4 separate regions of the Homo sapiens genome follow, and regions 2, 3 and 4 are each linked to region 1. Evidence: promoter capture Hi-C in human tissues and cell types (Jung and others, 2019). All regions are on one chromosome and are shown on one strand. Each heading gives the region's core, a stretch centred on a gene start or on the middle of the fragment in contact. The rest is flanking DNA. Distances are from core to core; before and after follow the strand shown.

Evidence for each region. Contacts are between HindIII fragments. The study calls those that stand out against the background at their distance.
Region 2: a contact is called between a fragment that was not itself captured here and the fragment with the promoter of APH1B in region 1, in 2 of the 25 tissues and cell types used here (H1 embryonic stem cells and mesenchymal stem cells).
Region 3: a contact is called between a fragment that was not itself captured here and the fragment with the promoter of APH1B in region 1, in 5 of the 25 tissues and cell types used here (IMR-90 fibroblasts, bladder, lymphoblastoid cells and 2 more).
Region 4: a fragment that was not itself captured here is called in contact with the fragment with the promoter of APH1B in region 1 in 4 of the 25 tissues and cell types used here (heart right ventricle, ovary, small bowel and 1 more).

The regions. Positions count from the first base shown.
Region 1 is chr15:63,276,259-63,279,057 of GRCh38, forward strand. APH1B (aph-1B gamma-secretase subunit) reads left to right here and starts at 1,347. Exons shown (of 6, transcript NM_031301.4): 1 at 1,347-1,478. The coding sequence starts at 1,366. It overlaps LOC124903504 (a long non-coding RNA gene), which reads left to right. Exons shown (of 2, transcript XR_007064674.1): 2 at 1-594. RefSeq lists silencers at 874-1,293, 1,374-1,653. The HindIII fragment of the contact is 12,664 bases long and covers 1-2,799 here.
Region 2 is chr15:63,326,549-63,329,347 of GRCh38, forward strand. CA12 (carbonic anhydrase 12) reads right to left here. Exons shown (of 11, transcript NM_001218.5): 9 at 1,550-1,582; 10 at 601-685. The region is part of intron 1 of LOC124903506 (a long non-coding RNA gene); the gene reads left to right. Among named protein-coding and RNA genes, the nearest start is that of APH1B, 50 kb to the left of the region's middle. The HindIII fragment of the contact is 3,476 bases long and covers 1-2,799 here.
Region 3 is chr15:63,240,944-63,243,742 of GRCh38, forward strand. The region is part of intron 1 of RAB8B (RAB8B, member RAS oncogene family); the gene reads left to right. Among named protein-coding and RNA genes, the nearest start is that of APH1B, 35 kb to the right of the region's middle. The HindIII fragment of the contact is 3,635 bases long and covers 1-2,799 here.
Region 4 is chr15:63,310,152-63,312,950 of GRCh38, forward strand. No RefSeq gene overlaps it. Among named protein-coding and RNA genes, the nearest start is that of APH1B, 34 kb to the left of the region's middle. The HindIII fragment of the contact is 5,043 bases long and covers 1-2,799 here.

The sequences.
Region 1 (2,799 bases), core at 97-2,596:
AAAGGTAATGTTTTTCTGTAAGAATTAAATACCTGCAGTTGTATTATTTGAAGGTGCATTTTCAGGGGCGAGCTGCAAAACATCTGTCAGGTCCCAACATTTGTCTACTGGTGTTTTTTTAAATGTGGATTGCCAAAATCTTTATTCATGATGGACATTATGTAGGAGTGGTTAATACTTACATAGCACTTACCTGTGTCAGGCACACTGATCAAAATAACCGACGAAGTATTATTCAACATAAAGAAAAATCTAACTTGGATGTGAATGATCAGAGAACTTAAGTTTTAATTTTTAAACCTTTCAGAAATTGTTAATATAGATGTTTATAACTTCCACCTTTTAAATTATTTCACTTATTGAACAGATATTAGTGAACTTCTAGGTGCTGAGGAAACAACAAAGAGCAAAGCAAAGTCCCTGTCCCCCAGGAGTTCGCGTTTTAACGGGGAAGAAAAATAAGCAAGTGAAATGGACGACTGTGAGAAGACGGAGCAGGGAGATGTTACTATTGCTTGTAGGGTGGTCACAGAATGCCTGCAAAAACAACCCTTTTGAAGAATTGGGAAAAAAATAAAAACCATTTGGCTGAAACAGCCCTGAGAAGGGCAGCTTCTTCCACCACTCTTTCATCATTTTACCATCTGTGGGTTATCCCCGGGGTCACTGCTATCCCAGCCTAGGTTTTATACAGGATGGAGTACGAAGTTCCCGCAACTATCCAAACGGTAAAATGTGCTTAAAAAAAAAAAAAAACCTATTTAAAAAGGAATCCTGCTTGTTCCTGCGCTACATTTTTGTTTAGTCTCTTTGGTTGACTTGGAATCTCTGCCTGTTCTCGGTGCATGCGGCTCGAAGGTGGGCTAGGGAGCTTCCCTTCTCTTAACCACCTCGCGGCCGGCACTGGAACCCGATCGGAGTGTATCTGTGGGGCTGCGGCGATGGCTGGGGCCCTAACGTCGCCGAGGACGCCCGCCTCGGGAGCAGGAGCTGCGGCGTGGCCCTGGCGCTTCCGGACACCCGGTAGGGCGGAGGGCCCAACGGTGGGGTCCGCGCTCACCGCCTTGAGCCCGCCCCTGCGCCCGGCGCCCTCAGCCCACGCCCCGCCCAGTCCCCCAGGCCCTAGCGTTTACCCCCACGCCCCGCCTCGCCCCGCGACCCACGTACCCCGCCTCCGAGCCCCGCCCCCGCCCCCACGTGCCCCGCCCCCGAGCCCCGCCCCCGTCCCCGTGCCTGCCCATGAGCCGCGCCCCGCCCCCCGCGTCCCGCTTAGCCCCCCACCCCGAGCCCCACCCACCGAACCCCGCCCGCGCCGGGAGCATCTCGCGTCCCCAACGGGCCCCCGGGTCGGTTTCCGCGGTGGCCATGACTGCGGCCGTGTTCTTCGGCTGCGCCTTCATTGCCTTCGGGCCTGCGCTCGCCCTTTATGTCTTCACCATCGCCACCGAGCCGTTGCGTATCATCTTCCTCATCGCCGGGTGAGGCGGTCGCGTCGGGAAACCCGGACGCCGGGGCTCCCCTCCCCCGCTGGGGTTACCCGCGACCCTCGGCGCCCCCACCGCGCGGCTCGACCTTGTTGCGTTTCAGACGGGAGGAGGGTTGAGAGGGGGAGAGCGGAGATCCGGCTCCCCAAAGGCGCCTCGCCCTCTTAGGAAGAAGCGCACACTGGGGGTCAGGGCCTTTTGCCTGGGGCTCATGGGTGGGGTTTAGTGATCCGTGAAGCTACTAAAGTTGTATAAAAAAATTATGGATAAGTTCATATATGCATCCTTCATTTTCTGGAGGGGGAGTCCCTAATTTCCCTCAGATTCTCAAAGGCATGTGTAATCCCCAAAGGGTTAAAAACCATTGGCGTTTAGGATAGTAGTGCGCGACTTCCGCCTATTAGAATCACCTGTGGCCAGGTGCTTTAAAACATGCCGATGCCCACCCCCACCCCGATCCATTGAATCAGAATGTCTAGGGGATGGGATTCGGGCTTCAGAAAAAAAAAAAAAAATTTAAGCTCCTTTTGGATGGTTCCGTTGTGCAGCCGAAGGGTGGAAACCTGTAAAAACACCGAAGCACCTGACTGTGCGTCTCCTTCTGGGAGCTTGGTAAATACCGGACTCTGGTGTCCCATCGCAGTCATCACCTGCCTCTTACTTGCACATACCACATCCCCCCTCCTCTGATGAGTCTCTCTTGGCACCAGACTAGGCCAATGATTCCCGCTTTTCTGCGTTTCTTCACCTCCCACAAACGTATTGAAAGTGCTTCGCTGCATGTCATTTTAAAAATAATAGAGATTTGGGAAGGGTCTGTAAAGCTTGCTATAATCATTAGAATCCCCAGGGGTGCTGTAAGACCTGGAGGGCTTGGATACTGATCCAGATCAGAACACAGGTTTTCAAGTTGAATTTTATACCAGTCACTTTATTAATAGAGATGTAGATATTTTTCTGGAAAAGATACTCATCTTTGCAGATATCTGATCAGTAAATCCATAATTTCTTGTAAGTTTTAAGAATATGAAAATTGCAGTAATCAGGGTTGTGTATTTTCTTGTTTTGGCTCATCAATGGGCAGAGCATTGATTAGAAAGAGTAGCAAATAACCAAGTTTCTAGCTAGATAGTCCTTGGCAGATAGAGTCTGCAGATGTACTTGCAAGTAGCAGGGTCATTGAAAAAAGTAATTGTTGGGAAACCTCAGCCTTCCTCTTGGACACGTTTGTCTCACCAAGGAAAATGCACCGTTAAGAACAACTGATCAGAGTATCACTTTATGAGGACTTTCTTTTCCTTATTGAAACGTCAAG
Region 2 (2,799 bases), core at 148-2,647, 50 kb after region 1:
TTCCAACTGTTCTCTTTCACACCTAACAGTAGTAGACCTATATTTTGAAAGAGGTCTCGTTGTCACCCCCCTCTTCAAACCTCTGATTCCATAACAGGGTTCCCAGAAACCTTTTTATTTTTCATACCCCCCCCAAATAAATTAGGTTTTAGGAAAAGCCAAATGTCACAATAAAAACATGGACAAAGGGCATGAAGAGTTAATGTGAGTGAGAGATCAGGTTTTCCTTCATCTTTCTTTTTGAATTCATAGACCAAAAAGCATATGTAAAGATCTTGATAAGAAGACAGCCTGGCTGCTTAACTTCAGGCACAAGCCCCAAGTCAAGAGACTCGTCCAAGGCCATGCAATAGCAGCAAGCAAGGCACACACGCTTCCAAATCTGAGCACAGTGACCCCTGAACCCTTTGAACGACCAGGGTCACATGTGCGTCTCATGCAAAGGAGGCCAGGGCACGGGTGCTTTGGGGACGGCCCTCCTAGGGTAAGTGGTGGTCCAGGTGACTGCGGCTCTTCATGCCACAAAGCTGCCTTCCCAGGCAGACTAATCATCATGGACACATAGCTGTCCATTCCCATTTTGGACCCAAACCAGCTCACCTCTTCCTTCTGAAAAGCCAAATGGACACCACCACCACAATACAGATGCCAAGAATGCCAGCCAGGGCCAGTGAGAGGATGATGCCTGGTGAAGAGGTAGAGGGCACACATTACATTCCTTCCTTCCCCTCCATCTTAGCCCATGGCCCCCGGGTGTGAAATCATGGCCCAGCTGCATAATCATCCACAGAAAGGAATAATTTCCCCATCCCTGTTCTCAGATTCTGGTCTTTGGCTTAGTGGGACTGGCTGGAGTATTTTGAGGTGGCCGTTTGCAAATTCTAGTGGTTTTCCAGCAGATGCTCTCAAACTTACACAAGGGTCATCTGAAGAGCTTGTTTAAAATGTAGGGTTTTTTTTTTTTTTTTAGCCCAACCCCCAGAGATTCAAAGTCAATCTGTTTGGTGCAGGGCCCGGGAATCTGCATTTTGCCAAATACTTACAGCTGATACTGATGCACGTGGTCCAAGAACCACACTTTGATAAGCCCTGGGCTACACAAATAAGAACTTACTCTGTCTTTGCCTGCTGGATTTAAGGCCCATTGGCTGTCTCCATCAGTTTTGCCCCCAAGTTCCATTGCACAGTCCTAAGCAGTCCCAGATGACCAGTAGTCCATTGCCAAGGTCATGCGGCCTGTCAGCTGACCTCCACAATGGGCTCTGGTATGTTTTCAGCAACAGCCTCCCACCATGACCAAAAGAAAGTCTTAGATAGGTTCTTTGAATACACACATGCTGTAGAGTGATTGGATCTTTCATTAGAGGAACATTTGATTGGCAGTTCATCTTTGAATCACAGAGCGACTTGAGGGTAAGACCCATAGCAAGGAGAGGGCCAGGAGCCAGAGCAATAGTACAGAGAAGCAGAGAGGACGGGCTTGGATCACACCAAGAATCACAGTGATCACCCAGCTGCAGCATGCACGGCTGGCTGCCCAGCCACATACCCAGACTCAGTCCTGCCGCAGTACAGACTTGCACTTAAAAGGGGAGAGGAAAAGACGAGGTTACTCTAGAGTCAAACCACACTGGATTTGAGCAGCGTGTTGAGAGACGCTCTACCATTTGTTTGGTCTTAGGCTGACAGACCTCTAGGGATGTCCACCCTTGGCTCAGGGATTGCCTGATGAAGTACAGGAAATTGCCCATCTAGGGAATTCATACTGCAATCCCTCCTTCCGATGCTCCTTTTTTTTTTTTTTTTGAGATGGAATCTCGCTCTGCCGCCCAGGCTGGAATGCAGTGGTGCGATCTTGGCTCACTTCAACCTCCGCCTCCTGGGTTCAAGCAATTCTCTGCCTCAGTCTCCCAAGTAGCTGGGATTACAAGCACCTGCCACCACACCCAGCTAATTTTTGGATTTTTAGTAGAGACAGGGTTTCACCATCTTGGCCAGGCTGGTCTTGAACTCCTGACCTCATTATCCACCTGCCTTGGCCTTCCAAAGTGTTGGGATTATAGGCGTGAGCCCCTGCGCCCGGCCCCGATGCTCCTTTATCACAACAGTTTCCTGGCTAGGGCAAGACTTCACTTGAGTTTTTGTTTGTTTGTTTGTTTGTGTTTTTTTTGAGACAGAGTCTCGCTCTGTCACACATGCTGGAGTGCAGTGGCACAATCTTGGCTCACTGCAACCTCCACCTCCTGGGTTCAAGCAATTCTCATGCCTCAGCCTCCCGAGCAGCTGGGACTGCAGGCGTGCACCACAACGCTTGGCTAATTTTTGTATTTTTAGTAGAGATGGGGTTTTGCCATGTTGACCAGGCTGGTCTCGAACTCCTGATCTCAAGTGATCCACCTGCCTCGGCCTCCCAAACTATGGGGATTACAGGTGTGAGCCACGGCGCCCAGCCAAGATTTCAGTTTTTAATACAACATGGCCAAAGAGGAAAGATGAAGAAAGGTAGGGATCAAAGCCTGCTTGGGCAGGCTCCTGTCCATGTCCCTGGTACCTGCCTCACTTCCTAAGCAAGGAATCCATCACCAGACTTCTCCCCCAGCCCATCAGCTTGTCATCATGGTTTGGTTCTATTTTTGCTTTGTCCCTCCTGGACAAACGCCTTCACCACATCAGCCCCACTTCTCTGCTCCATGGAACCAGGGTATTACGGCTTCAACCAGCAAGTTACTGTTGAGGATAAATAAGGTGAGAGAGAAGTCCTCAGTGTGGCTGAACCCGTGCCCAGCTACCTAAGTCTCA
Region 3 (2,799 bases), core at 102-2,601, 35 kb before region 1:
GGCAAAATCAACCTTAATAAGAACAGGCGTTACTACTTTAATAAGCCAGAATAAGGAAAATATTAATCTGAACAAATATTCTGGTATACATCGTCGTTTATTTAAAACGTGAATGAAGGTTGGGCAGGCTAGCTCACACCTGTAATCCCAGCACTTTGAGAGGCTAAGGCAGGTGGATCACATGAGGCCAGGAATTTGAGACCAGCCTGGTCAACATGGTGAAACCCCATCTCTACTGAAAATACCAAAGTTAACTGGGTGTAGTGGAGCACACTGTAATCCCAGCTAGTCGCGAGGCTGAGGCAGGAGGCAGGAGAATCGCTTGAACCCAAGAGGCGAAGGTTGCGGTGAGCCAAGATCGCGCCACTGCACTCCAGCCTGCACAACAGAAGGAGACCCATCTCAAAAAAAATAAGTGAATGAATTATTAAGTGGTAAAATGTTGGACATTGGCCTTTTAATTAATTTATTCAGGTATACAGTAGGCATTTTGAAAGTCATTGTTTTTTTTATTTTGGTAAAAACATAATATGTAAGTTACAGTCTTAACCATTTTTCAGTGTACAGTTCAGTAGTTTTACAAGCCTGTTCACACTGTGGTGCAACTGATCCGTAGAACTATTTCATCTTGCAAATCTGACACTCCATACCTATTAAACAACTATTCCTTTCCCCCTCCTTCCAGATCCTGGTAACTACCATTGTACTACTTTCTGTTTCTATGGATTTGGAAAGTCATGAATTTTTTTAAAATGTTAATCTGAAGAAACATGTATTGAGTACATACCAGGTTTTGGGCATTGTTCTTGATGCCAGGCCCAAAGAGAGGTAAAGGATAGAGGAGGATTCCTAGAGGGTCTTTGTTACACTGGATTTGGTGGCATATAAAACGTAAATCACAATAAAAATCAATGTCTATTAAGTCTTAAATGAGTGATGGAAACAGTATATTTTGTCAGATGCTAGCAGTAATATTTATGCTGAGTTGCTGAGTTTTGTGTCACCTTTACAGACCCTGAAATGCTGAGGGAGGTGCCTTAGAGGAGAAAATATGAGCCAGATAACTTGGGAATAGTGGTTATCAGATTGCATTAGGTTGCTGCAAAAGTAATTGCGGTTTTTGCCATTCTTAATGGCAATTACTTTTGCAGCAACCTAATATTTATTAATAATTTATGGTTGTTAGTGAGGGGAAATAATGGTTGAGAAGGTGTTCTGCTAAATTAGCTTGGGTGTGATTGTTGCCTATTTCAAGACACAAGAGTATCTAAAAAGGCTCCGTGGGGGAAAAGTACCACACAGAGAAAAAAGGAGGAAATTCGGTTGGTTTATGTCTATGCATTGTATAAAGCTGGAGCTAGGAAGCAGCCTTTTGGGTGCTTTCAATGTTTATATGAAAAAATACTGTAGTAACATAGCAGTTGAATGCTCCCCACCTAAATAAAACTGGAGTTGGCTGGGTGGCTCACGCCTATAATCCTAACACTTTGGGAGGCCGAGGCGGGTGGATCACGAGGTCGGTCAGGAGATTGAGACCACCCTGGCCAACATGGTGAAACCCCGTCTCCACTAAAAATACAAAAAATTATCTGGGCGTGATGGTGCATACCTGTAGTCCCAGCTACTCGGGAGGCTGAGGCGGGAGAATCACTTGAACCTGGGAGGTGGAGGTTGCAGTGAGCTGAGATTGCTCCACTGCACTCCAGCCTGGTGACAGAGTGAGACTCTGTCTCAAAAAACAAAACAAAACAAAACTGGAGTTAATGTTTAAGTCAATTTAGAGGATATGTAATTTACGTGTTTTCCTGAAATTTCTTGGAAACCACTTTAAGGGGTTCTATATAGCAGTGGTCCCCAACCTTTTTGTCACCAGGGACTGGTTTCATGGAAGACAGTTTTTCCTCCAGGGACTGGAGGTGGTGGTGGTGTGGGGGTGGGGGTGGTTTAGGAATGATTCAAGCACATTACATTTATTATGCACTTATATTCTATTTTTATTACATTGTAATATATAATGAAATTATTATACAACTCACCAATGTAGAATCAGCGGGAGCTGTGAGCATGTTTTCCTGCAACAAGATGGTCCTATCTGGGGATGATAGAAGACAGTGACAGATCATCAGGCATTAGATTCTCATAGGAGTGCACAACCTAGATCCCCCACATGGGCAGTTCACAATAGGGTTTGAGCACCTATGAGAATCTAATGCCACTGCTGATCTGACAGGAGGCTGAACTTAGGCAGCAATGCAAGTAATGGGGAGCAGCTGTAAATATAGATGAAGCTTCTCTCACTTGCCTGCCACTGAATTCCTGCTGTGCAGCCCAGTACTGGTCTGTGGCCCAGGGATTGAGAAACCCTGCTGGACAGAATGCAAAAGAATAGAAAAATCTAAACAAAGCTGAGTAGCCAGATGATGACGATTTAGCAAATTGCAACTAAGTTGTATTCACTAACTGGTCTCCTCAGAAAGCTTATTCCTGATATATGATAGAGCTTGCTGATATTTGTCAAGGGCTTTGTGGTTCTTTGTCTTTGAAATTGATAAATAAGTTTTGAGCTACCATAGTGGGGGGAAATACGTGAGGGAAGGGTTGAACTTTTGAAGTGCCCGAGGCCTTCAAAAGGCATAGCCCTTTGAAAGCCAAAACTTTTGGCTTCAGGTTAGAATCATCTGGGAAACTTTAAAAATTACCAGTGCCCAGGTCCCATCCTTGACTAATTAAGTCACAATCTCAGAATTTGGGGAAGGGGGCAGGCCTAATCATGAGGATTTTTTTTTTCAACATTTCTCA
Region 4 (2,799 bases), core at 119-2,618, 34 kb after region 1:
GCTTGCACAAAATCAGATGAAGTTTACAGTGCTTATTCAGGGCTTACCATGCACAGAATACTGCTTAGGCACTTCAAAAGGATGGAAAAGAACGAGATGGTGGGGATCTTTGTCCTTGGAAAACATATAATCTAACTGCACAGATTAAAACACCTAAGTATTATTTTAAGGCAACTACAAAATGCACTACAAATTATGGAATAATATAGAATAGCTTGACTACTAAGATGATGCTTAATTTAGAAGTGGATGAAGGGCACTGGGTAGTGGATATAGATAGGTGATAGCTGAGGACTGAACCCTGGGGGCAGTCAATTGAAAGGTTGGAAAGGAGAGAAGAAGGAAGGAAAACCAAAGGAGTGCAGTGGCTTGACAGCCAGTGGGGAAAGGATGTCAAATGCTGCTGGATAATGGGTAAGAAGAGGAGAGAGAATTGATTGTTTTGTATGGAGAGATGGAACTTGCTGGTGATCTTGATAAAAACAAGATGGAAATCAGAGTGAACACCTGAATAGAATGGATTGTACGGAACAGGAGATGAGGAAGTAGACACAGCATTGAGAACACAGGTATTGTAGAGCAGTGGGATGATGAACCTAAGGAGGATGTGGGGGAAAGAGAGTTTTTTTTTCTTTTTTTCCTTATGATGTAGACTGTAACTGTAACTGCATGTTTATGTTAAGATAAGAATGACTCCATAGAAAGGAAAAAATGACGTAGGAGAGGGATAGGATAGTTGCCAAAGCAAAGACCTGAAAGAGGGAATAGAGAGGGAAATTCTTTTATTTATTTATTTTGATTTTTTTTTTTTTGAGACAGAATCTCGCTCTGTCACCAAGCTGGGGTGCAGTGGCATGATCTCAGCTCACTGCAACCTCTGCCTTCCAGGTTCAAGCGATTCTCCTGCCTCAGCCTCCCGAGTAGCTGGGACTACAGGTGCGCACCACCATGCCCACCTAATTTTTGTATTTGTAGTAGAGACGGGGTTTCACCACGTTGGCCAGGCTGGTCTTGAACTCTTGGCCTCAAGTGATCTGCCCACCTCAGCCTCCCAAAGTGCTGGGATTACAGGCATGAGTACTGTGCCTGGCCAAGAGAGGGAAATTCTTAACGTTAAATGCTTATATTAGGTAAGGAAAAATATTCAAAATCAATGACCTAAGCCTCTACTTAAGAAACTCGATAAAGAAGAGCAAACTAAAGCTAATATAAGGAGAAGAAATGAAATCATAAAAGAACAGGAACCAAATAAATAGCAGTAAAACAATGGGGAAAAATGAAACAAAAATCTGGTTCTTTGAAAAAAACCAATAAAGCTGGTAAAGCTCTGGCCAGATGGAAAAAAGAGAAGGCACAAGTATCAGTAATGACAGGAGACGTCACTATAGGCCCTACATTATTAAATTAATAAAGGATAGTATGGATAACTTTAATGCCAATAAATTTTAAAACGTAAATGGACAAATTCCTTTTTTAAAAAAACCCACAAAATTCACTCGAGAGGCCGAGGTGGGTGGATCACCTGAGGTCAGGAGTTTGAAACCAGCCTGGCCAACATAGTGAAACCCCATCTCTACTAAAAATACAAAAAATAAACCAGGCGTGGTGATGGGCACCTGTAATCCCAGCTACTTGGGAGGTTGAGGCAGAAGAATCACTTGAACCCAGAAGGCGGAGGTTGCGGTGAGCTGAGATAACACCATTGCACTGCAGCCTGGGCAACAAGAGTGAAACTCCGTCTCAAAAAAAAAAAAAAAAAAAGAAAAGAAAATCTGCATATCCTTCTATGTCTGCAGACTTTGTTTTTTCTTGCCTCTTAATATGCCTTGTAATTATTTGTTGAAAGCTAGACATCGCCTCTTGGGTAATAGGAACTGAATTTTAAAAGCCTTGAGTGTAAATTTTATGTTAATCTAGGTAGGAGTTGGATTATATTTAATGTTTGCTGTGGCTGTTAGTGCCAGAGGCTTCGAATTCCTCTGGTGGTCTTGTTTTTGTCTCCCCTTTTGACTGTGGAGTTCCCTCAGTGCCCCTTTTCAGAGAAAGCCTGTGTCTTGCAACTCGTTCAGCTGTAATCCACTGTAAATTAACACTAGAGCCCTGTTGGTATGGCAGTGCGATGTGGAGGAGGGGACATGTATAATAATAAAATTATAATAATAAAATCTAAATCTCAGTATTTTCATGGGCCTGAATCCCTGGGCTGAGAGTTTCTTAACTTTTTCCCCCTTAGATAAGACAGGAAGCTAGAAGGTGGCTGGAGAAGAAAGGTAACTTTCCCCAGCTGGGTTACGGCTTTGGTAAAGTCTTTTTCCTTGGAGAGAGGCTTTTGTTGTGGAAAACACTCTGGATGTATTTTACAATGAAGACAGTATTTCTCACCCTTACACTAGTCCATACTCAGACTCCAGCAATTTGTCAACATTAGCATTTAAGTGTTACTACCAGTTTATGGCTCCAGCAGCTTGCACTCCAGGTAAGCAAATCTCAGCTGTGACTCTGGATTCACCTCTCTCTCCAGATTTTGGAGTGGTGGTTTACCCTGAGACCTCAGTTCTCTGATGGGTTCAAAAGAATTGTTGATTTTTCCATTTGCTTAGCTTTTTCTTGTAAGGATGGGAGTGATGGCTTCCAAGCTCTTTATATGTTAGAGCTAACTGGACATCCTCTGTATCTATTAAATACGTTGAATTTGTAGTTTTTATAAAGAAAACAATTATTAAAATGTACATGTTTATAGGCAATATAGAATCACTATTACACATAACTTTTTGTTCTGTAACAACTAAACAAAATGTC